Linked DNA regions of Homo sapiens: regions 1, 3 and 4 are each linked to region 2. The links are contacts of gene promoters, found by promoter capture Hi-C in blood cells and fetal thymus (Javierre and others, 2016). All regions are on one chromosome and are shown on one strand. Each heading gives the region's core, a stretch centred on a gene start or on the middle of the fragment in contact. The rest is flanking DNA. Distances are from core to core; before and after follow the strand shown. Region 1 has its middle 35 kb from the start of GCOM1. Region 2 holds the start of ALDH1A2 (aldehyde dehydrogenase 1 family member A2). Region 3 overlaps GCOM1 (GCOM1, MYZAP-POLR2M combined locus). Region 4 has its middle 17 kb from the start of GCOM1.

Evidence for each region. The method cuts DNA at HindIII sites, captures the fragments that hold promoters and counts their contacts. A CHiCAGO score of 5 or more calls a contact.
Region 1: a fragment that was not itself captured here is called in contact with the fragment with the promoter of ALDH1A2 in region 2 in 7 of 17 cell types (fetal thymus, M2 macrophages, megakaryocytes and 4 more); the score reaches 15.2 in fetal thymus.
Region 3: a contact is called between a fragment that was not itself captured here and the fragment with the promoter of ALDH1A2 in region 2, in 1 of 17 cell types (endothelial precursors). The highest score is 5.2, in endothelial precursors.
Region 4: a contact is called between a fragment that was not itself captured here and the fragment with the promoter of ALDH1A2 in region 2, in 2 of 17 cell types (M2 macrophages and fetal thymus). The highest score is 5.4, in M2 macrophages.

Annotation. Positions count from the first base shown.
Region 1 is chr15:57,553,965-57,560,168 of GRCh38, forward strand. It overlaps the pseudogene RPS13P7. Among named protein-coding and RNA genes, the nearest start is that of GCOM1, 35 kb to the right of the region's middle. RefSeq lists an enhancer at 149-724. The HindIII fragment of the contact is 6,295 bases long and covers 1-6,157 here.
Region 2 is chr15:58,060,428-58,067,583 of GRCh38, forward strand. It overlaps ALDH1A2 (aldehyde dehydrogenase 1 family member A2), which reads right to left and starts at 5,284. Exons shown (of 13, transcript NM_003888.4): 1 at 5,107-5,284. The coding sequence starts at 5,223. It overlaps ALDH1A2-AS1 (ALDH1A2 antisense RNA 1), which reads left to right and starts at 4,798. Exons shown (of 3, transcript NR_147215.1): 1 at 4,798-5,315; 2 at 6,388-6,507. RefSeq lists enhancers at 4,302-4,821, 4,822-5,341 and a silencer at 5,950-6,139. The HindIII fragment of the contact is 8,256 bases long and covers 1-6,510 here.
Region 3 is chr15:57,631,299-57,638,076 of GRCh38, forward strand. GCOM1 (GCOM1, MYZAP-POLR2M combined locus) reads left to right here. Exons shown (of 17, transcript NR_104371.3): 7 at 1,136-1,261; 8 at 2,315-2,443; 9 at 6,397-6,476. It overlaps MYZAP (myocardial zonula adherens protein), which reads left to right. Exons shown (of 13, transcript NM_001018100.5): 7 at 1,136-1,261; 8 at 2,315-2,443; 9 at 6,397-6,476. Among named protein-coding and RNA genes, the nearest start is that of MYZAP, 43 kb to the left of the region's middle. The HindIII fragment of the contact is 4,701 bases long and covers 180-4,880 here.
Region 4 is chr15:57,571,737-57,578,355 of GRCh38, forward strand. No RefSeq gene overlaps it. Among named protein-coding and RNA genes, the nearest start is that of GCOM1, 17 kb to the right of the region's middle. The HindIII fragment of the contact is 3,267 bases long and covers 1-2,939 here.

The sequences.
Region 1 (6,204 bases), core at 1,760-4,259, 510 kb before region 2:
GGTGGGAAGGGTTGTGTGTGCAGGTGGTGGGTAGTGCCCCTGCCACACGTACAGATCCAGGGCATCTCCTCTGGACCCCTCCCAGGGACTGTAAAACTTTACTATGGGAACAGACTCAGTAGTATTTTGGGGCAGCGGGAATGGTTCTTTACTAATGCCTAAGATCACTTAACAGGGCAGAAGCCATAATTGGGCAGACCTTACGGGCCAAGAATCTTTTGCACTTTATCTGATTTAATCTGCACCCTGTGAGGTAGGTGGCATTACCCGCTTTCATGTGTTAGGAAATGTGTGTAAAGATCAGTAACTTGCCCAGGGTCACCCAACTAGTAGCTAAAGTGGCTAAAGTCCCAGGTCTGTCACTCTAACCACCCAGAGTGGCCTTACCCTGTACATTCTCACCCTGTACATTCTCACCCTTACCCTGTACATTCTCACCCTGCTGCCCCTCTGAAATAGTCACTGCTGGCTTCCCTAGCTGAGGACACTGGGCACAAAGGCTGGGCTTCTGGATTGCAAGTCTGTGCTTGCAGCCTGAGGCCCACTCTAAGGGAAGGCAGATGGCCTGCCTCTCCTTTCTGCAAAACCCCCTGCCACCTGCTGCGTGCTGCCAGCCTGACTCACTGACTCCAGCTACCTCTGGGCCTCTGGCCCTTCTAGGATGGGCTTGTTTTCCAGGAAAGGGTTTGGAGATTAAGATAAGCCAGCTGCCTCCAGTGAAAGGCCCTGCTGCCTTGGAAAGGGCCGGGAAGGCTGCCATTCCAGCTCCTTGGTTTGCTCGCTTCTCTCCGTGGCTGGGGCTGCCTCGCCTTTCATCCGTCCCTGCCTATCGTTGGGCATGAATAATGAGGCTCTTTGGAGACAGGCATAGGACTCCCTGCAGAGCGAGGGATTTGTAAAATGGGTGCCCAAGCTCCCTCTGGGGCTCCGGCTCCCTCATGTCTCTGTCTGTTCTTCCTGGGGAAGCTGCTGCTTGTATTTAGATAATGAAGAACTAGAAAACAGACCTGGCCTCCTTTCAACCTGCCGCTTCCTCCAGCCTGGGTAGGATCCAAAGCTCTGGCCTTCCTAAGCAGTGCTTGTTCCTGACTTACACATGGATGGTTTTCTAAACTAAGTTCATTTTCTGAAGCAGAGAATGAATAACTCACTCTACTACCTCCTCCCCTTCATGGCAAAATTTTTTCTTTTGTCTGTATTTTCACGGCTGCTGGATTCTAAAATCAAGGTGCAAGTTGCTTTGGGGCTTACTAAAGTCCCGTGGCCTTCCCAGGCCCTGTGGAAAGGTTAGATGCACCCCAGATAACCAGGGTTGGTTATTCCCTGTGAGAGAGTCAGAGGGGTGCAGGCTGGAAGCATAGCGCTCCTCCACCCCTGCGCTGGTCATCATGTGGAGCGTGTGCTTTCTAAGAAGTGCCAGCCTGTGTCCAGAGCCTGCTGGGCAGATGTTAAGCCAGCTGTGGACTTAGTCACAGTGACTCTGCTACCAACAACAGCAACATGGACATTTAGGGAGGAGCAAATGAGAGGAAGGAAGAAATAGGCAAGATAACAAGGCTTGACATCTGATCTCTGGGCATTTCCAATGGAGGGATTTGGTTTGTTTATGTTTCCACCACCAAGAATTAACAGTGGTTAACAGCTGTTCATATCTGTCTGCTTTACATTTTTAAATAAACATTACAGATAAAATTGAAGTTCTCTTTTTGTCCCTCACTCCCTGCCAAAGGCAACCACTATTCTCAAATCTGCTGGGTATTCTATTCAATTTTATTTTTACGTGTATGCATCCATGAACACCATGTAGTATGTTTTGTGTGTTTTAAAATGTCATATACATCTCAGCGTCTTGTATATAGTACTCTGACTTTTACATTCAAAATTACATTTTTTTGAGGCCTATGTTGATGTAGATTATTTAGTCATTTGTTTTTCTTTTTAATCACTTTATTGCTTGAGTACATAGACAAATTTATGCAACCAGGGCGAAGCTGTAGATGGTTCATATTTCCAGCTGGGAGGGAGGACTCGCTTGGTTTTATAATATCGAGCCAGACGGTGAATCCGGCTCTCTATCAGAATCAGAAGGAATTTAGCATCCTTGTCTTTTCTGCTCCTCTCAAGATGCTTTTGAACAGCGACTGCTTTCTTAATTAAGTGGTAGAGATCTTCAGGGAGATCAGGAGCAAGTCCCTTAGACTTAAGAATTCTTATGCCTGTCACAAAACGCACTTTTGCAGCACCATGTCAGTCTCTCAGGATCACACCGATTTGTGGAGGAGTCAGGCCCTTCTTGGTCAGTTTGTAAATCTGCTCCTTCACATTGTCAGATGTCAACTTCAGCCAAGTGGGGACGCTGTGGTGATAGAGCAAAGCCGACTGGGACAGGCCCTTCCCGGGCACATGAATGTGACCCGTGACGGCGGCAGTCAGGCAGTGAAAGGCTGTTTTTATTTTTTTATGGTCATTTTTTTTGGCAAATTAAGTGTTGAATGTTGAGTTTTTAAAATACTGATTGCTTTATATGCCATCCGCTTCAAAAGGAGTTGAGTTCTGCTTCAGGCATGACATGGTAGCTGGTATCAAACTGAACTCTTCCTCTGGGAACAACTAGAAAAGGTGGGCAAAAATTTCTTAAAAGCAGTTGTTTGAAGACCTGGAAGAACAACCAAGACACTCTGATGTGGAATTGGCCATTGTTCTTCCCTGGCTGCTGTTGCTATGGGTCATGGTGCTCGCAGCCCTCCTTGGATGGTCGGATGGGTGAGAGGGTTGCTCACACAAATGCCCTGCAGTTTTTTAAAACAAAAGATCACCCCCTTCAGTTAGAAACTGAAGGTCGCTGTAGTGGAATCCAGACAGCAGAGTCTTTGGGTACGGGGAAGGCTGGCAGGGGGACACTGTGGAGCAGAGCCAGGGCAGGCCAGGCTGGGAGCTATATTGTAGGGTGCTCAAATTCTACCAAGATTCTAAAATATCTCAAGTGTAATTAGGGGTGCATTGTTTAAAAAATAGTCTAAAGGAAGTCAGTACCTTAGTAGCCACACCGGGGAGTGGTAAGACCCCAAGGGCTGACCTGATCAATGGCACAGTGACTGAACTGCACTGTAAGGAGAGGACCCAGGCAGGTAGTGTCAGGGTGAGGTTTGGTTGAGCTGGGATGTCCAAGTTTGGGACCAGAGCTGACCAGGCCTAAACAGTAAAAGAGGAACACCAAAAACTGCCCCGGAGGACTTCGTTCTCCATTTTCACCCCAGAACACTGTTTCCCCTTGTCCTTCCAGTATGGAGAATAAATACTAAAGAATATTGATTGGAAAGAACACTGAATTCTTGGCCTGTTTTGGGGGTGGCATTTTCAGCTTTCCTTGGGTGGCCACATGTCTAGTTTCAGGCTCACAAAGACCAAGGTCTCACCAGCTCTGTCCCCTGTGGAATGGTGGTGGCATCTTCTGTGTGATGGTGAATTTTAGATGTCAACTTGACTGGGCTAAGGGATGCCCAGATAGCTGGTAAAACATGAATTCTGGGTATGTCTGTGAGGGTGTTTCCAGAAGGGATTAGCCTCTGAATCGGCAGAACGAGTAAAGCAGATGGCCCTCCCCACTGTGAGCAGGCTCTGTCCAATCTGCTGAGGGCCCTCACTGAACAAAAAGGTGGGGGAATAGAGGATTCATTCTCTACTTAAGCTGAGACATCCGTCTTCTCCCACTCTGACATCAGCGCTCCTTGCTCTCCAGCCTTCAGACTCTGAATGGGACTTAGGCAATCACTGCTACCCGCCCCCCCACACCCCCATTCTTAGGCCTTTGGGCTTGGACTCAATTACAGCTTGCAGGTGGAAAATCATGAGACTTCTCTGCCTCTAACTGCATGAGCCGATTCCTATAATAAATCTCTCTCTCTCCACACACACACACCCACTGGTTCTATCCTTTGAGGATCCTTGATTAATACACTCATTCATCCCTTGAAACGCCCAACTCTGTTGTGGAATTGACCATTGTTCTTCCCTGGCTGCTGTCGCTATGGGTCATGGTGCTCGCAGTCCTCTTTGGATGGTTGGATGGGTGAGAGGGGTGCTCGCACATCCCTGGGCTAACTGGGGTAGTTGCCTTGTTCATTTTGCTATATCCCATTTGGACCCTTTATGATTGGAGTATGAACTACATTTAGCAAACTTTTAAGTTCAACCCAGGAGCTGGAATCCTTACATCCTGGGAGTAGCTCTTCGAACACTTTGGAACTAGAGGCATGCATGGTGGTGGGTGTTCTTAGGTACGCGTTTCCTAGATGGATGGTCCTGAAATGGTATGACACCTCAACTTGCCAAGAGGCCTCCCGTGTGTTCCTGCTTGGCAGGGGGTGAGATTGAAAAGATTCATTACTTCCTTTACATATTTATTTTTCTATATAGAATAAGGTAACTGTATTACTACAAATTTGGAAAATAACCCCACCATACTGATGCAACCATTATTAGCATTTTGGCTCATTTCTTTCCAGTCTTTTTTTCCTACACAGTTTTTAAAGCATAGGTACAACTGCAGTGTTTATATGATTTGTATATGCTTTTTTTGTCACTTAACATTATAGATATTAGATAATCTTGATCACTTTTTAAAAATGCTTTTTAAAAATACACTTAAAAATCACATCACATTGAGTGAATTCTGTCATCAGTTAACTATAATACTATTTGTATATTAACAAATGTGTAGGATTTGGAATTCTGCCTTCCTACATCAAATACTGTTATATCTGTAGCTTTTTCATCTTTCAAATAATTTGCTTTGGCTAGATGACCAGAAAGAGAAGAGGAAAGACAACATCTTTAAGTCTCTATAAAAGTTCCTAATGTGGTTTGGCTCTGTGATCCAAACTTTATGTTGAATTGTAATTCTCAATGTTGGGGGAGGCACCTGGTGGGAGGCGACTGGATTATGAGGGCAGATTCCCTCCATGCTGTTCTCGTGATAGATCATTCTCACGAGATCTGATGGTTTAAAAGTGTGTGGCACTTCTCCCCTCTTTCTCTCTCCTGTTGCCATGTGAAGATGTGCTTGCTTCACCTTTGCCTTCCACCATGACTGCAAGTTTTCTGAGGCTTCCCAGTCATGCTTCCTGTACAGCCTGCAGAACTGTGAGTCAGTTAAACCTCCTTCTTCATAAATTACACAGTCTCAGGTAGTTCTTTGTAGCAGTGTGAGAACGGACTAATACAGTTCCCAAGTTGCTTTTCAGAAGGGTTTACTAGTTTGTACAGACCCAAGAAATTACAAATGTGGCAGTTTCTCCCTTTCTCTCTCCCCTCAGCTTTGATTATTAACATTTCTTCCCGAATAATAGACTAATCTTTCTTTCATCAGGGCAGTCTTTTTATATTGTTAGTGAAGTTTCTTTTAGAAATTGTCGTTTTGTGAGTCTTTTTAATTTTTTATTTATTGTCTAGTGTGGTTTTTGAGTAGCACATAAAATAAATGCAGATAGTACAGGAGGGTAAAACAATGAAAAGTGAGTCTTCCATCCTTGGCGCTCATTTCTCCAGGCTCTACTCAGAGGCAGTCACTGTTTCTAGTTTATTTTGTTTCTTCTGCTTCTTGTACATTTTTCTCGGGGACTCCTGGATCCCTCGCCCTCTGGCTTCCCACTGCTTTTCTGGTTCTCTTTAAAGGGCACCCTACCCCCAGCTGCATTGTCAGGCTCAGTGCATCTCTCTTCCCTAACAGGTCCACAGTGGTCAAAACTCTAAACATATGAACACTTATTGGGGAAGGTAGTGAGGATGGGAGCCAGTGGGGGATGTGGCCTGGGAGGGAAATATTGCCAGATCTCATCTTCCTGAGATGGCAACAGGAGATTTGGACCAAAGGCTCTGGGTCTGTTGGGGGGATGGGGGGAACAGCATTTTCAACCAGGTGTTAGTAGTGGCTGCAGAAATGCGGTTTTCTGGGATCTCAGGTGGGCTCTTTAAAGAAGAGACTGATGGGTGATGATGGAAGCCTTCACAGTCCTGATGTAATAGCCGAGGTGGACAGCAGGGGGAGCTGTTGGACGCTTCTGGCCCAAATGTGGCACAGGAGTAGATTAGTGGCTCCTGTAATCCAGGGCCCCACCCATCAGTGGTGAAGTCCCAAAGAGGACTTTGGACAAAACGAAGCTTTGCCTTCCCAGTGTTGCCCAGGTGATCTGGTGTTCCTATGTT
Region 2 (7,156 bases), core at 4,034-6,533:
GTCAGTGAAGAAACTCTTTAAGATGCCACACATATCTTTTTTTTTTTTTTTTTTTTTTTGTGCTGTTGCATCCCTAGGACCTGGCATCATATCAGGCACTATGTGTCAAATAAATGTAACTGTCCATGTAGCTGATAAGTACCTTTCTGACCAGGATTTGATCAAAGGCTTATTTTAACTCAGAGTCTCTCTTTTTCCAAATGAAGGAAGGGCATGCAAGTTTTTTCTAAAATGTGGGCTATATGGTTTCTGTGGCTCTGCCATTATAGTCAGAAAGCTGCCGCAGACAGTATATAATTGAATGAGTGCAGTTGTGTTACAATAAAACTTTATTTATAAAACCAGGCAGACAGTCCACAGTTTGCTGACCCCTGATACTGTCACTAAGATAACTCAAGAGACAAAAACTCCTATCAGTATTTGTATTTTATTGTCCAACTAAGAAAGACTCAGAACTGATAACTCTGGGTGATGGGACTTGGGATATTTACTGATTTTGTCATGGTTAAATCATTGTGCTTCATTGATGCAACAGAGAACTAACTATGCATGATTTGCCTTTCTTAAGCCTGGCTATGAGGAAGTCAGACCTCACAAAACAGTCTCCTCAGAGAATCCTCTACTCTGAAATACAAAAACTATCATTCATCATTTTATAGAAATAAAGAACGAGGAGTCCCTCAGCAAATGATAATTCCACATGGTAACATAGGCCCATGTAGTGGAAGGGATCAGGGCAGGACCCCAGGAGAATTATCTAATTCAAGTCCTGTGATGAAATTGTCCAGCTTCCCTGTGTTAAATGGAGATGATACAAACACCAAAAAGCTGCATAGTTATGAAAAAGTATTTAAAAAAAAAACCTGAAGTCCTCTATTAACATGTAGTTTGACTGACAATTTATGACCAAAACAGACAATCTTAAGTAAAGGTTTGGAAGGATCTAGATCCACACCTATCTTTTAAGAAATTATTCCTGGCACAGGCAAGAATCTTGCCCCAGATTAAAAAAAAAAATCTCATAGAAAAATCAAAAATAGCCATTTAAAGTATTAGAATCAAAAGTCACAAAAGATAGCTCCTTCTTAAGAGGGGTAGACTAGTTCATATTTTCTCCATGGTTGCGAGAGAAGCAACACAAAATATAAAGATTTAAACTCCTTCCCTCAAAAAAAAAAAAAACAAAAAAAAAAAAAAAACGGAACAAAACGATGAAAAAACAACGTGCCACAGACCGTTAGAAAAAGTGTATGGTGATGAAAACTATCAATTTCTTTAAAGTCAAGGCCAATGTCTTTCTTATGAATTATTCTATTTATTTCTACTCTCTCTCCTTCAAAAGGTTTTGCAAGGATCAAACAAGATATATATGAAAGTGCTAGGCAGACCATTAGGCCCTATAAAAATGTAAGTGGCATTATAATTATCATCATCATTATTATTACATTGATCAACTGAACTACTGCTGTACTAACAACCAATTTTTGGCACACAAACTTTTTAATAAGACCCTAATCTCCCAGAAGGCAGATGTTTCCAGTCTAACACAGTGAAAAGCACCCCTGTTAGGAACATGGCCACTCAAATGCCTTTTGAATTTAATTGAAATAGACCCCAGAAAACAGAAGTTTAAATGAATAAATAAAAAGACAAATCTAGACTCACGATGCACATTAGCTCTGAGTTTTAAGTTGATTGCCTTTTTGCCTCTTCTATTTTAGCAGGTCATTATGTTATAAATACCCTCTTCCTCCCTGTGTTTCAGCCCCATATAATATCAGATGCAGAAAAAAAAAACATAACTCTTTGTTACTGTTAGTTATGGGCATAAACTCTCACTGAAAAAGTGACCAAGAGAAAGACAGCACAACGATCTGGGGGAGGGAGGAAGGAAAGGAGAGACCGGTACAGCCAGAAGAGAAGATAGAGCCAAGAAAGAAGGTCGAAGTGGAATACAGAGGACAAGTTTCCAAAGACCTGGGAATCTGTTAAGAGATATCCCCTGCAGTCAGGGGCGGTCAGTAAAGTGCTGAGCCTTGACTTTGTAATGTGTGTATTCCTATAATATCAGTTATACAAAATTATAAAAGTCAGACTAATAAAATAGACAACTCAGAAAATTTTAAATTCATAAACACATCGCTCAAGGCAATCAGAATGCAGTCTTCTTAGGATACAAGCAAAGGAGAGCGCATTCTCTTGGTACCAAATTGGTCCCCTCAATACTTCATGTTAGTTTTCACTCCTCCTTGACTAACACCATCTAGTTTTAAAAAGCACATTCCTTCATAAGGGATCACTTTTAAAACTTGGGATCCAGCTTGCTGTATTAGGGAAATACAAATAGACATGTTCCAAAAATGGTATTGCCATTGATCATTGGTATAATATGGATACTAGAATTTCAGAGTGGTAAGCGTATTTTAAAAAATGGAATGTAACTGCCTAAAAGTCCATACACAACCATGAGTTTAGCCCTTTCAACATCCTTAGGGAATGAACTTTAATTCTGGAGCATTTCCACTGGACCTCTAGCAGGCAAAGGCAGTAACTTTTAATTCTGGTCATCTCCCCCATTCCCTTTATTAAAAATGTGAAATACTTCTAGGAGGAGGAGGAAGTTGGAGCAAAAATACAGAAAAATACAAGATCACAAGTACAAAGTTTTCTAAGTGCACATTACTTGAAATTCTCATAGTCTGGTCATTTATTTTAAGTAGTGACTCTATGTGGGTCCCAATATCACACTGAAAAATCATACAGAAAGTCATATCCTTCACTAAAGATGTATGTTTAGCAAGACAAAAAACAATAACATATTGTCTTACAGTATCATTTTCTGATGCAAATATTGTGTTTCTTTCAAATGTGATATTTAACACGCCCTAACGCGTAATACTTTTGTAGCCATTACCCTTTTAAAATCCCCTATCGAATATGGTATCACTATGCTAAAGGACTGTCCATTCTATCTTGTTCACTCTTCTGTTTGAAATTGCTAATATAATTTCCCTCACTTCTGGTCATGTTTGTTTTTAAAAAACTCACTATTAATCTTATTTTTCCTTTAAGTAAAAAAATCATTACCCTGGGATACCAAAAGAGCAGCTTCTGCTCTTCACGTTTAAAAAAAAAATACTGCTTGTCCACTATGCTTGTCTTAGAAAATTTAGAAGTCTCACTAAAGAGCTGAGGAGGAAAACTGCTGGGAATGCTCACAGATACCTGATTTTACAAGTTTTTGTGGAAAGAGCTCGCCTTTAGATTAGTGTTACTCAGTGTTTATGAGGGTTGTTTGTCAAGGCAAAAATAAGGTACCTCCTCCCCACAAATTAAAGAATCAAGTTACAATCCATTATTTCATTTCTGATTGTTTTTCTTTGTATTAAGTGGGAAAGTGGATACTGGATAAAAGTTCCCCGAGCTAAAAGACTCCACATTAAAGGCTCCAATTAGCTATAAATCAGTTGTCTTTCCTACTGGGGGAGAACAAGAGAGAAAAGAGAGAGGGGGTAGTTAGGGAGTAAGAGAACTGGAAGAGCTTCCAAATTAAATTCTGAAAAACGTACCTATTGCATACCTAAAATTTCTTTCAGAGGCTGTTAGAAAAATCCCATCAAAAATAAGACTAAAATCAAACCTTCCCAAATCTGAGGGTTAGGTCTTTTCTCCTGTGTAGATCTTCCATTTTAAGACCTTTAAAAAGAGCCTGAAGAGGTTAGAGACCCTCATAAAATAAAACTTCTAAGCTGCATGCTTTCCCTGCTCGTTCCTAAACCCAGACAAGTGCCACACATTGGCACTATTGTTATGCAAACAATGCCTAAAAGGTTATAACCATTAACGACCTCTCATTAAAACGGCTTTGAAAAATTTGTCACACCATCTAAAAAAGCTAGCAGGTACATTAAATCCATCTAAATCGACATTCAAAACACAAATCGCCCTGATTTGTAACCTAAAACTCAATGCAAGTAAAATCTCAATATTCTGATGTTGTTTCTTGTATATCTCATTCAACCACTAAGCCAGATGCAAACAATTTACTTCTCTACAAAATTTATCTTGTAAAAAAGCACGATGGAATACATCTTTAATCAACCTTTAACCATATGCATGTGCGTCTATGCGTTTGCGTTAATTGGGAGAAGTTGAGTGTAGAAATGTACCGAAAGGACTAGAAAATCAAACCAGAGAACTACAAAATGAACTCCAAGAAACGTGGTTTTCAATCCCATCTCTCTCTCACCACCTCCCTCAAAATGTTGTAACATTACAATACCCCTACGTTTGTAATCGATCATTTTTTTTCTATGTCGAATTTGTGGAAAGTAAATTCATTTTATATTAGGTAGCAGACGCATATTCTTTTTTAGGCGATGCAACAACAAAAATCCTGCTTAGCAAACCCAAGATGTCAACGTTCGTTATAAAAAAAAAAAAGTAAGTTCTTCAGTTCAAAACCGAACATGCTAACAAATATTAAAACTTTTTAAGTTTCCCAGGGAAACTGCCGCTGCCTACAAAATTCACATGAAACGCTGACGTTGGAGTTACTGTACTTATCAGTCAGGTTTCCGTGAAATTTGTCAAACCGGCCAGAGCGCTGGTGTCTTGACAATTCCTTACGGGAAAGCCCCTCAGCACCCTCCGGGCTGTGGAGGACCTGATTGGGACCAACAGCCGAGGGGCCCGGAAGGCGGAGGACCGAGAGGCGACGGCCAGGCTGCGTGGCCAAGCTGACGGGGAACCCCGGCCTCCATCTGAGGATACTAAGCGGTTCCGACGCCTTCCCCCGCGGCAGTCGGGACCGGGAGAATCGGACAGAAACCAGCCTCAGAGTCCGGGGCAGGAGCCGTTGACGGCTGCCCCTCAACGCTGCGCTTCGGGTTGGGTTAAGTCCCCAAGGCGTCCTCAGACCACGGCGGGGCTTCAAACGCCCCAGTCCCGAAGACAGGCAGGGGGTCCCTCTGCTGCGCCGGGATGACAGGCTGGCCCCGACGACCCCGGCCCCGTCCCGCAGCCCTCACCCGCTGAAGAGATCGGGGAAACCGAAGAAGGTTCTAGAAAGTCTCCGTGGACGACGGGCGCTGGGCGGCCGCTTACCTTGGTGTACTTAATTTCGAGATTGGGCGTGGGCGACGGCAGGAGGTGCAGCGACGCCATGAGGGCGGCGGGGTCGGCCTTCACCTCGCCGGGCATCTCTATCTTGCTGGAAGTCATGGTGGCGGGCCGGGTGTCCCTAGCCCGCGGCGTGGGGCAGTGCGGGCTGTGCGCGCGGTCCGCGGCCCGGGGGCGCGCTCGCCTGTATATAGGCAGGTGTCAAGCTGGGGCTCTTCTTATTGGACGTGAGGGCCGAGGCGCGGGGGGCTGGTCCATCCTACCTAGGACGCCCGGCGCAGCCTCCATTTACATAAAGCCCGCGCCGCGCGGCCGGGACGCTTGGCGCCCACGGTCAAGTCCGCCCGGCGCTCCCGCCCCCCGGCCGCGGAGACCAGCCCACGCCGCCTCCACAGTCCTCGACGGTGGGAGCGGAACTTGCGCCGCGGCCCGCGGGCCTCGGCCAGCCGGACTTGGTCTCCGGGTCCCTGGGTCAGAGTCGGCGGGAGGCGCACAGCGGCCGAAGTCGAGCGAGGGTCGTGGCCCCCGGAAGCGGAGCTGGCAGGGGCTGGCGGGGACCGGAGCGGCCCGGTGCTGCTTCGGAGTAGAGAAAGGCCAGGAAAGTCCAGGCTGCGGAGGGCGGCTCCCAGCTCGCCCACGTTCCCTCCCATCCCCGTCCCAGGACCCACCGAACCCCGTCCCCCTTCCTTTCCGGAGACCCGGGAGGGCGTCCTCCGTTCTCCTCCTCCGGGCAGGGGCGCCAGGCTCTCGGCAGCTACGCCCTCTCCCCCGACCCCCCGACTCCCCTCAGCCGGGCCGAGGTGCATGGTGGCCAGAGGGTCAGGGAGAGGTGGCAGTGGGTGCGAGTCCCCCTCGCCTCGGGCTCAGAATGAGGATCCCTGCGAGCGGGTCAGCGCGGGGCGGCCCTTGCCAGGCGTCGCCCGCCCAGTTGCTGCCCTCTGCCGGCCGGGACCGCCCGGGCGGCTTGCGCTGTGGCGGGAGGATATGGGCAGTGATCATCCCCGGCTCCTCCGAGGAGCTGCATGCTTCGTGGGCTCCTTTAGTTCTTCTCGGATCCCCTCTTCCGGCTGTTTCCCCTCCTCACCCAGCACACCCACAGAAACACTATTTTGTTTTTCTGTTGTTCCTTACACGCTAAGAGCTATCGTCCCGCCAGACCTTAGGCTCATTTTACTGTCCCTTTGGGATTGAGTTTCCATCTCCCCCCTAATCTAAGTGTTTCCAAAGTCTAACAAGCTGCCCTCTAGTCTGTGGATCGGCCTGCAGGTGTAAACCAAGAACCTAGAGACCCTGCCTCAGAATGGGCTTTGGACTCCGTGGACTAAATCAAGGCCGCATGGAAAGACCTGCATAAGTCCCTTCCCTTCCTTACTCCTCACTCCAAATGTAAGCTTGACAGGGGCCTACAGTGTTGATAAACGCTTTTTCTACACTACCAAGCAACACTGTGATTCTCGTCTTTTTGTTTTGTTTGAAGAGACAGGGTCTCACTCCTTCACTCAGGCTGGAATGCAGTGGCACCGTGACAGCTCACTGTGATCTTGAACTGGGCTCAAGTGACCCTACCACCTCAGCCTCCCAAAGTGCTAGGATTATAGGCATGAGCCACTGCACCCGGCCTGATTCTCATCTTAAATGCCATTTTTAGAGCCGCTGGAGTCCCATTTCTTGGGCGTTAAGAAAACATTAAGCATCAGCCAGAAAACATCTTTCCTTAGATACTTTGAGTAACTAAAACTGCCTAATGCTCAGCGCTCAGATGCTAAGCAATAGTGAAAACAGACAAAAATATTTCATTTTAGTATTAGGTTTATAGAAATAAGTTCCAGCCTCTCAGAACCCAAAGTGACCTGGGTGAATCGTTTTCATGGAGAAACTACAGACCTTAGCTTGGGCAGTCGAGGGATCTGTACTCAGGGAATTTCTATGGCCAAAAATTATGACTTAATAACAGTGTATGCTCATAAGATATACTTTTATCAAAGCCTTAGAAGGTTAGAGATACAATTGAGAAATAAAAAAGTAAAATCTTAGA
Region 3 (6,778 bases), core at 1,280-3,779, 430 kb before region 2:
ATCTGGGGACATCATTAGGCTGCTTGGCAATCTGGCTGCTTCCCTGGAGTCCAGGCCTTTAACTCCAGCCCACAGTTGCCTGTTTTAGAGACTGATGCTTGTTTTCATCCTGACAGTGGAGTTAAAAAGGTTTCTCCTACTCCTCCTATTTTACTCCCCAAATTGGGAAAAAAAAAAAAAGCTTCAGGAACTCAGGGTATGTTACATGACCTGGATGCAGAGTGAATGGGCCTCCAGGGACAGAGCCCTTCCAGCAAGCTGTGCGTGCACTGCAAATGGAGCACACAGCACACAGGGTCTCTCTCAGCTGGTCATAAGCTCTGCTCAGGACTTTCCACTTTGGAACTTCTTGGTGCCAACACTTACCCAGTGATGAGAAGGGAGAAGTCAAGGGCGTCAAGAGAGACTTGTCACATCTTGGAAATAACATCATGTAACCTATTGAGTTTGAAGAATGCTTCCCTTTTCCAGAGTTTAGGTATGCAGCAAACTCAGCTCTCTGCAATAGGCGATAACCTGGAAGGAGGGGATGAGAGCAAACCTTCTGCAGCATAAAATCAATGGCGGGAAGTCTGTGTGTGAGAACGTGGCCTGGCAAACAGGAGGCACCAGCCACCACCAACCTAAGCCCTGCCCACCTGCAACTCCACTGACTTTTTCTCACCTCCTAAGCCAGGCCTGCTTCAGTACTAGGGGTGCCAGCTTAGTGTTCCCCATGCTAGGTTGGAATGTTTCCAAAAGCAACATTTAGGAAAGCACAAGGGTATGGAAAGGGTGAGTCCAGATTTCTCCTTTGAGCTTAGCTGGTCTTACCTAGAAACTGGCTTGGCCAATGCAACTGATGAGATTGCGTAGAGAAATAAGTTTCTACCTTTTGAAAAAGTCACTCATGTGGAGCATACCTTTGTCCTGAGAATGCCCCCAAAATTCGTGTGAAATGCCACTTTTATTTTTCTGTGGCTCTGCTCACCCCTCTTCCTCCCTTTCCCTGTTAGGTCTTGCTGTGTCTCTCTGCTGCAGAACCCAGTGGATGGGCTCACTACCTCTGTGAGTCCCCACATGAAATGTGCAGTGGAAGCTGCCAATTCCTCTGGGCCCTGCAAAAGCTGTCGTTCTGAAATGAGTCTCGTTGTAGGTGGAATCGTCCCAAGAAGCCAATGCTGAGGTGATGCGAGAGATGACCAAGAAGCTGTACAGCCAGTATGAGGAGAAGCTGCAGGAAGAACAGAGGAAGCACAGTGCTGAGAAGGAGGCTCTTTTGGTGTGTGTGTTGTAGCTGCCGATGTAAACTTACCGGGAATTGTTGGTTCATTATTGTTGGTGATGTATACGTAGTAGTGTTTATTCTTAGAGGTGGGTCAGTAGACTCAGCCATGGGTAAGGGATCAAGGAATTATTCATCTGCTCATTCACTCCCCTCCCCTCTTCCCCTCTGCCTTTATTCATCCCCGTCTCTACTCAGAATAGCCCCTTGTCTCTGTCTCTAAATACACACCTTTTTCTAGCTCATCTGACAATTTGCCAGCATCTAAGCAAACCCTGGGCTTGCCCGCAGCTGTGCCCTCCCTCCCTCCATTTGGTTCTCTCTACCTGAAATTTCCTCCTTCCCTATCTTTGATCTTGCCTAAGCTCCCTAAAAGCCTTAAATGCCACTCTCTCCATGCCTGGAGTCTCTTCCAGTCATGGAGCCAGAACCATTATCTGTCCTTAGGAAGCTCACTCACTCTCTCTCTGCTTTTACTTTGGAATTCTTTTATACCTGCCATTAGAGTGGGGCTGTGCGTCTCACATCTTGGCTTTTCCAGGAGATTATAAGTTCCTGAAGGCGGGGACTCCATGTCTGGCTCATCTGTGTCCGTAGAGGCTTAATACATGTTCTGATGATTGACTGGGTTTTCTTGTTAGTAATGAGCTGATGTATTGCATTATGGGAGAAGGATCTGGGAATTCTGCATTCAATTCCAGATCTGGTTCTAATTCCCTTACACTTCTGGCAAATACAGTGACATTCTGAGCATCTACTCAATGTTATTAAACATTTGTAGGCCTCTTTTACACCTTTTGGATATAAAGACTTAAGGGAAAAAAGGGAAAAAAATGTAGTGAGGCCCATTAACCAGCCACATGATGTATCTTTATTCATAGGTGAGAACCAGAACCGTGAGGTTGAGTTCATGATCTGTGAGACACTTTCAGGTTCCAAGGTCATGTTTTAAAGAGAAATCGTGATCTAGCAAGGCCTGAGCTGATTGGATCCCGGTGAGTAGCCTCGGTACTCCATGCCTGTACTTAGGAGGGTATATTTCTTTTGCAGGAAGAAACCAATAGTTTTCTGAAAGCGATTGAAGAAGCCAATAAAAAGATGCAAGCAGCAGAGATCAGCCTAGAGGAGAAAGACCAGAGGATCGGGGAGCTGGACAGGCTGATTGAGCGCATGGAAAAGGTAGGACACAGCGTTGGGCCTATTGCCCACTTGCCCAAACTTTTCCCTGTAGGTCCATCTGAGATACGAGAGGCCCTGGATATGGATTCCTCTCACCTCCAAAATTTGCAATTAAAAAAAAAAAGACAAAGCTATAAAATAAAGTATAAGGAAGTCCAACAACGTTCTCATTTTTCCCATGATAACTATTTTGATGCTTTTAAAAAATATTACTTGTGAAATTCTTTAGAAAAATTAATATTTTAGCAGCCTTGCTTTGCTGGTGCCCCAGGTGTGAACTTAGTTTATCCATTGAATTATCAAGCCCTATTTAGGTGTTACATCAACACAGCAGCCCTGTTGTTTCTGGGGCATGTGTCTCAAGGGTTGGCTTTTCCTTGACACGCTGGGGACTTGAGAGAGTAGGGAGGCCCCATTTCTCTAGGTGTTGTAAGCAGGCTGGTGAGTGTGGTGGGGGAACCTGAGGAAGGCGGGAGCTCAGCTGGGATAATGAAGCCTGTCTAGTGAAAGGGAAGAGGCCAGGAATTAAGTAGGAAGTGGAGGAAGGGGAGGAAGTGGTGGGAGAAAGGAAAGAGGAAAAGAAGGAAGAGAAGGAAGAGAAAGGATGGGTGACCTTTAGCAGGTGACGGCTGACTTCTGGACCCAGGAGTTCAGGGCCAAGTCTGTGGCTGGTTTCTGGGAATGGCTCCCTGGCTGCATATGAGTTTGCAGAGAGCAGTGACCTGCCAAGACCCTGACATTATTAGCACCCTGTGACTCATTCGGGATGCCAAGAATCTCCAATCTGATGATGGAGGCAGAGGTGGGGCAGCAAGAGCAAGGTCACTGTCAGGCTTCATGTGATGCTGAGAAGAGGTCGCCTTAGCTAATGGTGTTTGCAGCATAAGCCCCTGTACTGTCCCCTCATAAGGCGAGGTGTCGCCACTATGGGAACTGCATGAAATTCAGTTCTGTGGAGCTTCAGAGCTCACTGGGTGCTTCGTTTTAGCTCTTTAGCTTTTTACTTGGGAGAGACTTGGGCAAACTAAAGAGTCAATTACAATCTCCCTTCTACCCCCTGGGAAAACAGAATCCCATCTTTTATTGAAGAGTAGGTGATTGGCTTAGTCAGGACTAACATTAGTATTGACCAGAGGGGGTGGTGGTGAAGATTGGGCAACAAGGGAGCTTTCTAGAGCTTGAGTGAGCTTCCTCCCACATTATTGTCCTCCTACAACAGCAGAAGATCCCAGTTAACTCAGATGCTCTCTCTCTGGGCAGCAGGTTTTTCTGCAGCGTAAAGAAGCAAGGTGAGCCGGCAGCATAGCAGGGTGGTCTGGGGGAGATGCCGTCATACAGAGAAACCACAGGTAGTGGTCATGAACATAGGCTTTAGAATCAGACAGTCTGGGGATTTGAATCTTGTGTCTCTTTGTAGTTGTTTGCACTTACTTGGTTTTTCCTAACTCAGTCTCCACTTCTGTAAAATGCTGATAATGGTACTTCTTATTCTTAGGGCTTTTGTGAGCAATAAATGAGAAAAATCCACGCCAAGTGCTAAGCATGGTTCCTCGTATATAGTAAGGGTTCGATCATTTGTGGCTATGATTTTTACTCTGTTACGAGGTTGCCTAAATGTCTACCCTCAGAGTCAGGTTGTCTTTAGCACGACCCATTTTATGCTTATCTTCATTGCTGTCTTGAGGTTCTGAAAGTTTCTTGTCTTTCCCCACTGATTTTCACATGGAGCCCTCATGTGGGATGAATGGGTAGAGCCAGGAAGCTGGTAAGGCCAGCCCTCCCTGCCAGCATTTAGGAAACACAAAACCTTCCCCAAGTGGTGTTGGCTTCTTCTTTAGTGATTGGAAATGTATTGTCCTTTCTCTAAATCTTCCTTTCCATTTAGGCTAGAGAAATGCTCTATTTATTGAACTAACATTAGGTAGGCCAATTTACACTGTTTCCTTTTCAGGGATAAATCTGTGAGAGCAGGAATCTGGCCAAATCGCTGTCTCACACTACGTGAACGGCATGTCCTAGGCAGGGCTGTGGCAGTGTACGTATCCTGCTCTCAGTTTTGGATTTTGCTCAAGGACAAACCATGTGCTTTTGAATGGCTTCTCTGCCATATGCCTTAGTTTACTGTTTCTCTTGCTGAGCACTGTATTTCAAACACCTTTTTTTCTGATCAGTAAAAATCTTTTAAGGAGTGTTCTCTACCAGGGACCCTTCTGGGGAACAGATAATAGTCTATGCCATAATCTGGGCAGTGGTTTCACAGGTGTTTACAAATGTAAGAAATAATTGTGCAGTGTACACTTAAGATTTATTGTACCTCAATTTAAAACAAATTTTAAAAGTGTGCTGTAAGTTAGACCTTGCTCTACTTTATGACAGCCTTTTTCTTTCTTGTTTTTTGTTTTTTTTTTCTTTTTGGAGGGAGGCATTCACTTGTGAAAGCTTTTATCACTGTTATTTCGGGGCTAATGTAAAACTTCCAACCACATAGGGGCAGGAGGAATGTTCTGCTCAGGCCAGGCCATAAGAATGTGCATTTGCTGTAGAGATTTAAAAACAGTAACAAAACCCCAGTCAAAGTTGATCTACCTTTGTTATTTTAAATATTTCAGAGATAATATATTCTTCCTGCTTAAGGTGGACTGCTTCCCCACCCCTTTGGCCTACCTCTTGGTATACCACTGCTTATAGCTTCAGAAGTTGTGGCAGTTAAATTTTCAAAGATTTGCTTTTAATAATTTGGTAGAAAAGAGGTTTGGAATCTATGTAGCTAGTAAGAGTTTGCTGGGTGGAATTTCCGAACATAAAGATGAGGAACATTAGTTCTTAGAGAAGGACCTAAAGTAAAATAATCTCCCAATTAGTGAGCGTTATTTGATAAACTTGCATTTTAAGGAAATTTGTTACACTAACATCTGTAATGTATTTTTAGCACAATTTCGGTTATGACAGGCACCATGTTTTTATGAACATTTTTCAGCTTTGTCCAAAGAAATGATTCCAGACTCTTTTTTGGGCAAACTTCTAAATATACATATATATAGCAAAGTGTACAAAGTGCACGGCTTAGTGCGCGTATGTTTCCTATTGCTACCATAGCAAATTTCCACAAGGTTAGTGGCTTAAAACAACACAAATGTATTATGTTCCATTCCTAGAGGTCAGAAGTGCTAAAATCCAGGTGTTGGCAGAGCTGGATTCCTTTTGGAAGCTCTAGAAGGGAATGCATTTCCCTGCCTTCTCTAACTTCTGGAGGCCACCTGTACTCCTCAACTTGTGGCCCCCTCCTGCAGCTTCAGAGGCAGTAGCAGAGCATCTTCCAGGCTCCTTCTCTCTGATTCTAACCCTGCTGCCTCCTCCTCCTTAGAAGGGCCCAACTGGATAACCCAGGATCTCCCCATTTTAAGATCTTTAACTTAATCACATCTGCAGAATTCCTTTCTCCATGTAAGATAACACATAGGATTCAGGAATCAGGACATGGACATCTTTGGAGGGCCATGAATCTGACCACAACATATTTTTACAAGTGAATACACCTGTGTAAACACCACAAGTTAGAATATAGGATATTGCCAGAATCCCAGAGCCTCTTTTCTTGATGATTCAGAAAATAATAAAGAATTTTGCAGTATCACAAGCCACCAGTTTAAAGTATTGATAATCAGTATTTGGGGCTATAAATTTTCACTGATCCTGGGCTGATGGAATACTTTGGAAAATGAATCTTGAATGGTTTTATTTAGGATGTTTTGTCTCTGACCCATAAATATATCTATAAATACACAACAACAGACTTGGCAGTTTTGAGCCTTGTTTGGGCTTTGCTGAGCAGGTGTGTAAAACCCAGGGGGTGTCATATAGACTTGGACTCCCTAGTGCTAGAATTGCTAAATAGACATTCTCTGTCAAACTTGGGATCCATTGATTAAAATATCAGTTTCTGTTTGTTTTAGGAACGTCATCAACTGCAACTTCAACTCCTAGAACATGAAACAGAAATGTCTGGGGAGTTAACTGATTCTGACAAGGAAAGGTAAGACGTAATGCCTTTCGTCTTGTAATGGATTTAGGTTGTGGACACGCTGTGTTTTTATGACCTCATTTGACCCTTACATTTTCATTTGTGTGGTTGTACCTTATTACAGACTTAAGCATACATAACATTGGGCTGAGAGTTTCCAATATGGAACAAGTTTCTTTGGAAGCCTCCAGCCACATCCTGCAGATCATGGCTGGTTGTTAGTGTAGTGGAACACATCAAATACTTTCACAAGTGCAAAAGTTTGGTCTATTAATGTTCTCCATGGCCTTGAACTCCACAGGATACACCTTGTT
Region 4 (6,619 bases), core at 56-2,555, 490 kb before region 2:
CAGGAGATAATGCCCAGAGGACACCCTGGATGATGGCAAGCGAAGCCCCAGGATGGCACCATGGGGCTGCCTGGAGCCCCACCAGTCCAGGCTGGAGCAGGAGTTTAGAGAGCTCTTCCGGGAAGTGGAGGTGGAGGCTGTCTCCAGAAAAAAAATGCTGTTGACATATGACCGGATGAGTTTGGTCATGTGACACACTGTCACTTTTGAAGGAAAGCTAGTGATGACTTAGTGATAAGTATTAATACATAAAAAGCTAAATAAGTGGAGAAAAGGTGATAGTTGTTAGCTTCAGGAAAAACAAAAAGTTGTATACGAAAGAAAATATTACTATAAAATGCACTTCATGGCCTGTGACTGATGATCACGCGGTCATAGAGCATAAGCCGTGATTATTGATTTAAACAAAATTACGATATAGCTGTATTTGAAGAATGAGGGGGCATGTGGGAGGAAGATTTAAGAGACCAAAACCTCAGTTTCCACATGGAGAGTCACTAGATGGGATCTAAAATTTAAACAAAATCCAGATATGGCCATATAAGTGTGTAATTGAAATATATGATGATAAATACCAGAAGAAATAGCTTAAAGAGTTAAAAGTGGCTGTGACTACGCAATGGGGATCAAGGGGCAAGAGGGTGCTAATTTTCATTATAAACTTGTAGAACCACTGGACTTTTAAAACCATGTGTGTGTATAATTTTGTCTTCTTTTCATTAAATGTTGCAAAATCAGCATTTGAACCCAATTCTGGTCTGAATCCAAACCTTATTCTATTATCTCAATTTTGCCTCTCAAAATAATTGCTTAACATTTATTTGCCTTTAGATTTTAATTTTTTTGAGTCAATTTCTGATGTGTGCTGTTGACTCAATAATCTACAAACTCCACATGTGTATGGTCCGTGCTTATTTTGCTGACCATTGGATTCCCAGTGTCCAGTGGAGCATCTGGAAACAGTTAGGCTCTCAAAAAACATTTGTTTGTCATTAGGTCCATTTTCTGAGTCTCTAAATTTCAATTCTTGAATATCCACATCCCTCTTAAAGACTGTTTCTGGGCCAGGTGTGGCGGCTCACACCTGTAACCCCAGCACTTTGGGAGGCCAAGGGAGGCAGATCGCTTGAGCTCAGGAGTTTGAGACCAGCCTGGGCAACATGGTGAAACCCCATCTCTTCAAAGCATACAAAAATTAGTCAGGTGTGGTGATGTGTGCCTGTAGTCCCAGCTACTTGGGAGTCTGAGGCAGAAGGATCATCTGAGCCTGAGGTGGTTGAGGCTGCAGTGAGCCGTGATTGAGCCACTGCACTCCTGCCTGGGCGACAGAGTGAGACCCCATCTCAAAACAAACAAACAAAAACACAACAAAAAAAGACTGTTTCTGTGCTGCACTCAGATGTGAACACCGTAATAGATGCATATGCAGAAGTGAATTGCAGTTGTATGATCCCCTTAGAGCATTCAGGATCTGAATGATGGGAGCTCGCTGCTTAAGACCTTTTGATTTCCCTGAAAAAGATGCCATTCCGGGGCTGTTTTGTCTGCACCATGCAGGCTGCAATTCCCTTGCTGGCTGGCTCCTCTTGGTGAGGTTCTCCTGCAGGCAGTCTGGTCTAGAATTGAATTACACTAGATGTTATCTTATACTTTAACTAAGTGGCTGAAGCGTCCTTTCTTTGCTTCCTCCTTCACTCCTTTTCTCCTTTCATCTTGTCCTTCCTTCAGTCAACACATTTGAGCACCTACTACTTCGTAGGCACAGGGAAGGAGATGTGTGGGGAGAAACCTGAGAAAATAAAAGGTGATTAATATTGTCCTTACCCACAACTAAGTGAGGAAGCTGGCTATCCAATCAGCTTTCCAATGAAAGCGAGGACAGAAGGAAGTAGGAGCTTAACGGTGAAGCCTGGGATGCAGTAACAGGGGTGGGAATGCAGAAGGAGCATGTGTTCCAACTGGGGATCAGAGAAGACTTGATGGGCAGCTTGGGACTCACAGGAAGAGAGCCAGGGCTCTGAATGTGGAGTAGACAGGACAGAGGCCCACAGAGGCCTTAGGTCCTCCATGGCAGGACCCCAGTAAACTTGTAATACGACTGAACAAAATCCTCAGAAATGCTGATGGGATGTGGGGACAAACTGGGGTGGCCCTACTGCCATCTAGAAGAGGAAGCAGAAATAAGGCCGCAGGCTTCTGCTCAACTGGAGCCCACTCCTGGGCCTCTGAGTGAGGCCCAGCTGTTAGGGTCAATTGGCTGCAATCATCCAAAACTCACTGAGATGACCTCAAGTGGCAGAAAGAACTTGTTCTATGGTTGGAGGGATGTCTCACAGAGCCCACGAACAGGGAATTTGAATCAGGGATGGGGACATTGCAGGAACCCTGCAAGTTCTTTCTCCCCATTGCTTCCTCTGCTTCCCCTGCCTGTGTCAGGTTCTTCCTCTGAATCCCAGTCTGCATGGTAGAAAATAGCCTCTGAGTTTGTACGTGGATAGAGCAGCTAGACAGGGACTTGGGGAAGGGATAAGATATACCTAGTTTGAGTGCCAAGTTCTGGAAGGTCGGAGGGGAGGCCCCAGTGGGAAACACATGCTTCTTATGGAGCCAGAATTCATCTAATTGAGTTGGAGTTTGCGAAACCCCTTCTCTGCAAAAAAATACAAAAGTTAGCTAGGTGTGATGCTATATGCCTGTAGTCCCAGCTACTTGGGAGGCTGAGGCAAGAGAATCCCCTGAGCCCAGGGAGGTTGAGGCTGCAGTGAGTCGTGATTGAGCCACTGAACTCCATCCTGGGCAACAGAGCGAGTAGCCCTGAAGTCTGTCATCTTGGCCCTGATGTCTTCTTTGAGCGAGTTTATCTTGTGCTATGATGTTCCCGTGAACTCCAGGCCACATCAATAGGCCCCTCCACCTTGGGTGGGGGGCTGGCCTGGGTAAGCTTTAAGGATATCTTCAGAGAAGTCATTTACTTGTGTTGGAACAAAAATAGTTCTTGCATAGCAGCAGGGACAGAACTGACTTGGAGGTCGGAACAGGGTCCCAGTTCCCCCTTGGGGGTCCCAATTCCAGTTCCTCTTCTTATTAGCTTTGTAACCACTACCACCCTGCAGCTATTGAGTGCTCACATTGTAGCCAGTACACATTGAAATGACCTGAGTGTAAAATACACGATGAATTTTGAAGATTTAGTACAAGAAAATGTAAAATATCTCATTACTATTTTACTAGTAACATAATATTAATGTTAAATGATAATATTTCAATATATTGGGTTAAATAAAATATATGAGTAAAATCAAGTTTACCTGTTTCCTTTTATTGTCAATAAATATGGCTATTAGAAAGATTAAAATTACAAAAATGGCTCACGTTCTTTTGGTTTTCCCCTCTAGACTCTAAACCTAACAGATTGCCTTTATTGAAAAGAACAAAATCACACAGTCTTGGCACAACTTTAGAAATTTGGGGAAAGATGCGTATGAAATCTCAATATCTTAGCCTCTGTTTAATGTTAATTACCACATTGTCCTTCAGGGATGCAAATCCTGGCCCAACCTATAGCTGCCCCTCCCTCTGCTCTGCCTGCTGGCAAGACGGCCCAGGCCATGGGGGACAAGATGAGGACAATGATTCCTGACACAAGGCTCTATGCACCCTTTGGGCCTGGTGATGTTCTCATGGGGACCTGCAGGCCATTCCGCTACTCTGAAAAGCTTGACGGAAAGAAAATGTACAGCTTCCCAAGCACTGCTGCCTTGGCTGATGGGATCATTGCTTCTTGGCTTGGGGCCAACAGCAATCCAGCCAGGCAAGGTTGGTGGTCTCAGCTCGTTAGAAGCTCTAATTGGCAATTGTTAATCTCCTTGATTAATAGAAATGTTGAAAACAAATTAATTACTCATTAAAATGTAATTGGATAGACAAAAACTTTCCAAATGTGCTATTCATAGCGAGTGTGACTGAAAGATGTCCTTGGCAATGGAGAGTTTGGGAACCACTGACAGAAGCAATTGTATTCGTCAGGGTCCTGGTTCTTGCATGTTCCGTCTCCACATTTGGTTGGTAGGTGATGGAGTTCCCCTTCACTTTCCTCCAGGGATGTGTCCTCGACATGTCCATCCCCTTGAAATTCATAGAATTTTGAGATTTGGAAGACTTCCATCATGTCGCCACTGGGGATGATGAGCAACCTGTCATGGCTGTCACAGCCCTGTGACCAAACCCCTCGCCCTTTGTTCAGCCCCACTTCCTCCTCAGCTTGGAAGGCACCATGCTTCAAACTATCCCATCTCTGAGAACTCACAGTCAGAGCGGCAACCACTAATTCCTCAGGTTATGTGCAGCTCTGCAAGCCATTGCTCCACTCTCAGAACCAGTTCTTTACCCTTCCTGAGACTACAGGTGCCTGGGCCCCTCCTGGTGCATTAACATATCACCCTCCACTCAAGCCGCTGGCTCCAGCTCCCACGCTCAGGGAGGCAACATTGACTTTATGAGAGCATCTACCTTATTGGAAGGATGTGATAGAATATATATGTATATATGTACATAGACATGTGTAACATAAAATGAGAGAATGTGGACAAAGCTTTCTATAGTGTCTGGTCTGTAGATGCTCTCAGCAACTGTTAACTCTTGTTGCTTATTACTGACTTGTTCTTTTCATGTGCTGTTTTCCCCTCAACCATTGAGACTGCTCAGAGAAAGTAAGAAAATCAGACTGATTGGCTCCGCTACAAAGTCATGATACTTACTCCCCTGCCGGACTCCCCATGGTCTGGCAATCACTGTGTGTGTGTGTGTGTGTGTGTGTGTGTAAAAGTTTTATCCACAAATATGTGTATCGCTATAATTCACGTACCATACAATTCACCCATTTAAAGTGTACAAACCAATGGTTTTTAGAATATTTACAGAATTGTGCAACCATTACCACAATCAATTTTAGAACATATTCATGATTCTAAAAAGAAATTCCATACTCTTTAGGAGTCCTTCCAGACCTGGGCAATCACTAATATACTTTTTTTTTCCTCTTTGGATGTGCCTATTACAGACATTTCATACAAACGAAACCATGCAAGATATAGTCTTTGTGACTGGCTTTTCTTCAGTTAGCATAATGTTTTCAAGGTTCACCCATCTTGTAGAATGTATCAGTACTCAATTCCCTTTCATGACTAAATAACATGCTGTTTGTGAACATACTACATACTGCTTCTTCATTTATAAGTTGATGGGCATTTGGGTTGTTTGCTCTTTTTGACCGTTGTGAATAATGCTGCTATGAGAATTTGTGTACAAATTTCTGAGTGGACTTATATATATATATCTTTGGTATGTATCTTTTGGATATATACTTGACAGTAAAATTGTTGGACCTATGTTAAGTCTATATGTAACCATCTGAGGAACTGCTAGACTGTTTTCCAAAGTGATCAGTCAGTTTTCCATTCCCACCAGCGCAAATGAGGGTTCTGATTTCTCCATATCTCACCAACACTTGTTATTATCTTTCTAATTATAGCCACTCATGTATGTGAAGTAGTGTCTTATTGTAATTTTGATTTGCATATCCCTGATGGCTAATAATGTTGATCGGCTTGGCAATCATTTTATTCATCATTTTCTTATTATCTCTTGGATTCCTATTGTGATTATTACAAACCTTTTCCAGACTCCAGAAGGTCCCAATCCCTCCTATCCTCTTATCTCCAGAAATTACATCTCCCCTGCTATTCTGAAACATCTTCATGAATTCATTGATTATTCAACAAATATTTATGGAGTCTTTATGGCACATTTTCATGCCTGGGTTATAAACTGGATAGGTCATGTTCTTTACCGTCACCCCTCATTCGTTCATAGTTGGTGGTGCCACTTACAGTCTTGTCTTATTGGACTTTTCTGCTTAAAATGTTTCAGTGGCTTCCTAGCGCTTTCAGGATAAAATGTAATGGCAAAATTCATGGCAACCATAAGAACTATGAGTGTGGGGCTAGCCCAACCCCGTCCATGCCATCCTGTCTGTCTCACATTCTCTACTACCCTCTTAGGTCCACAAACACATAATTCTTTCATGCAACCCTGCCTTTCTTCCCCACTGCCCCGCTCCCACCTGCAAGCTTCTCCAGGGCAATGGTGAGTCTTATGCATCCTTGTATTTCCTACAACCCTGGGACAATACTGGGCACATTGAAAGTACTCAATAACTGGATGTCCATTGAGTTAGTAAACGAAGAGATGGCCAAGTAAATAAATGAAGGAAGGAAGGAAGGAAGCTATGCAATTCTGCAAAGTAGTGCAATTTATTTCCCTGACTCCTTCTCCTGTTCCTCTTCCTGAAATAGAATAATCAGATCTTCCCTAATAGGCCAGCGAGAAAGGCTACAACTTTTTAGTTGGCTGAAGTTAGGGTCTATTCTGACCCTCATTTCAAACTGTCCAAACAGAATGATATGCCGAGCCAGCTGAACCGAGGAGGTTTCATCTTAGCCAGGTATTTATGACAAATGCTACTACTCTAAGTAAAGTTTTAACGCAAGACATGTGTGTATCTATTTGTACTCTGTAGGATCTTAAGCAAAATATCATAACATTTAATATAAAATGCCCA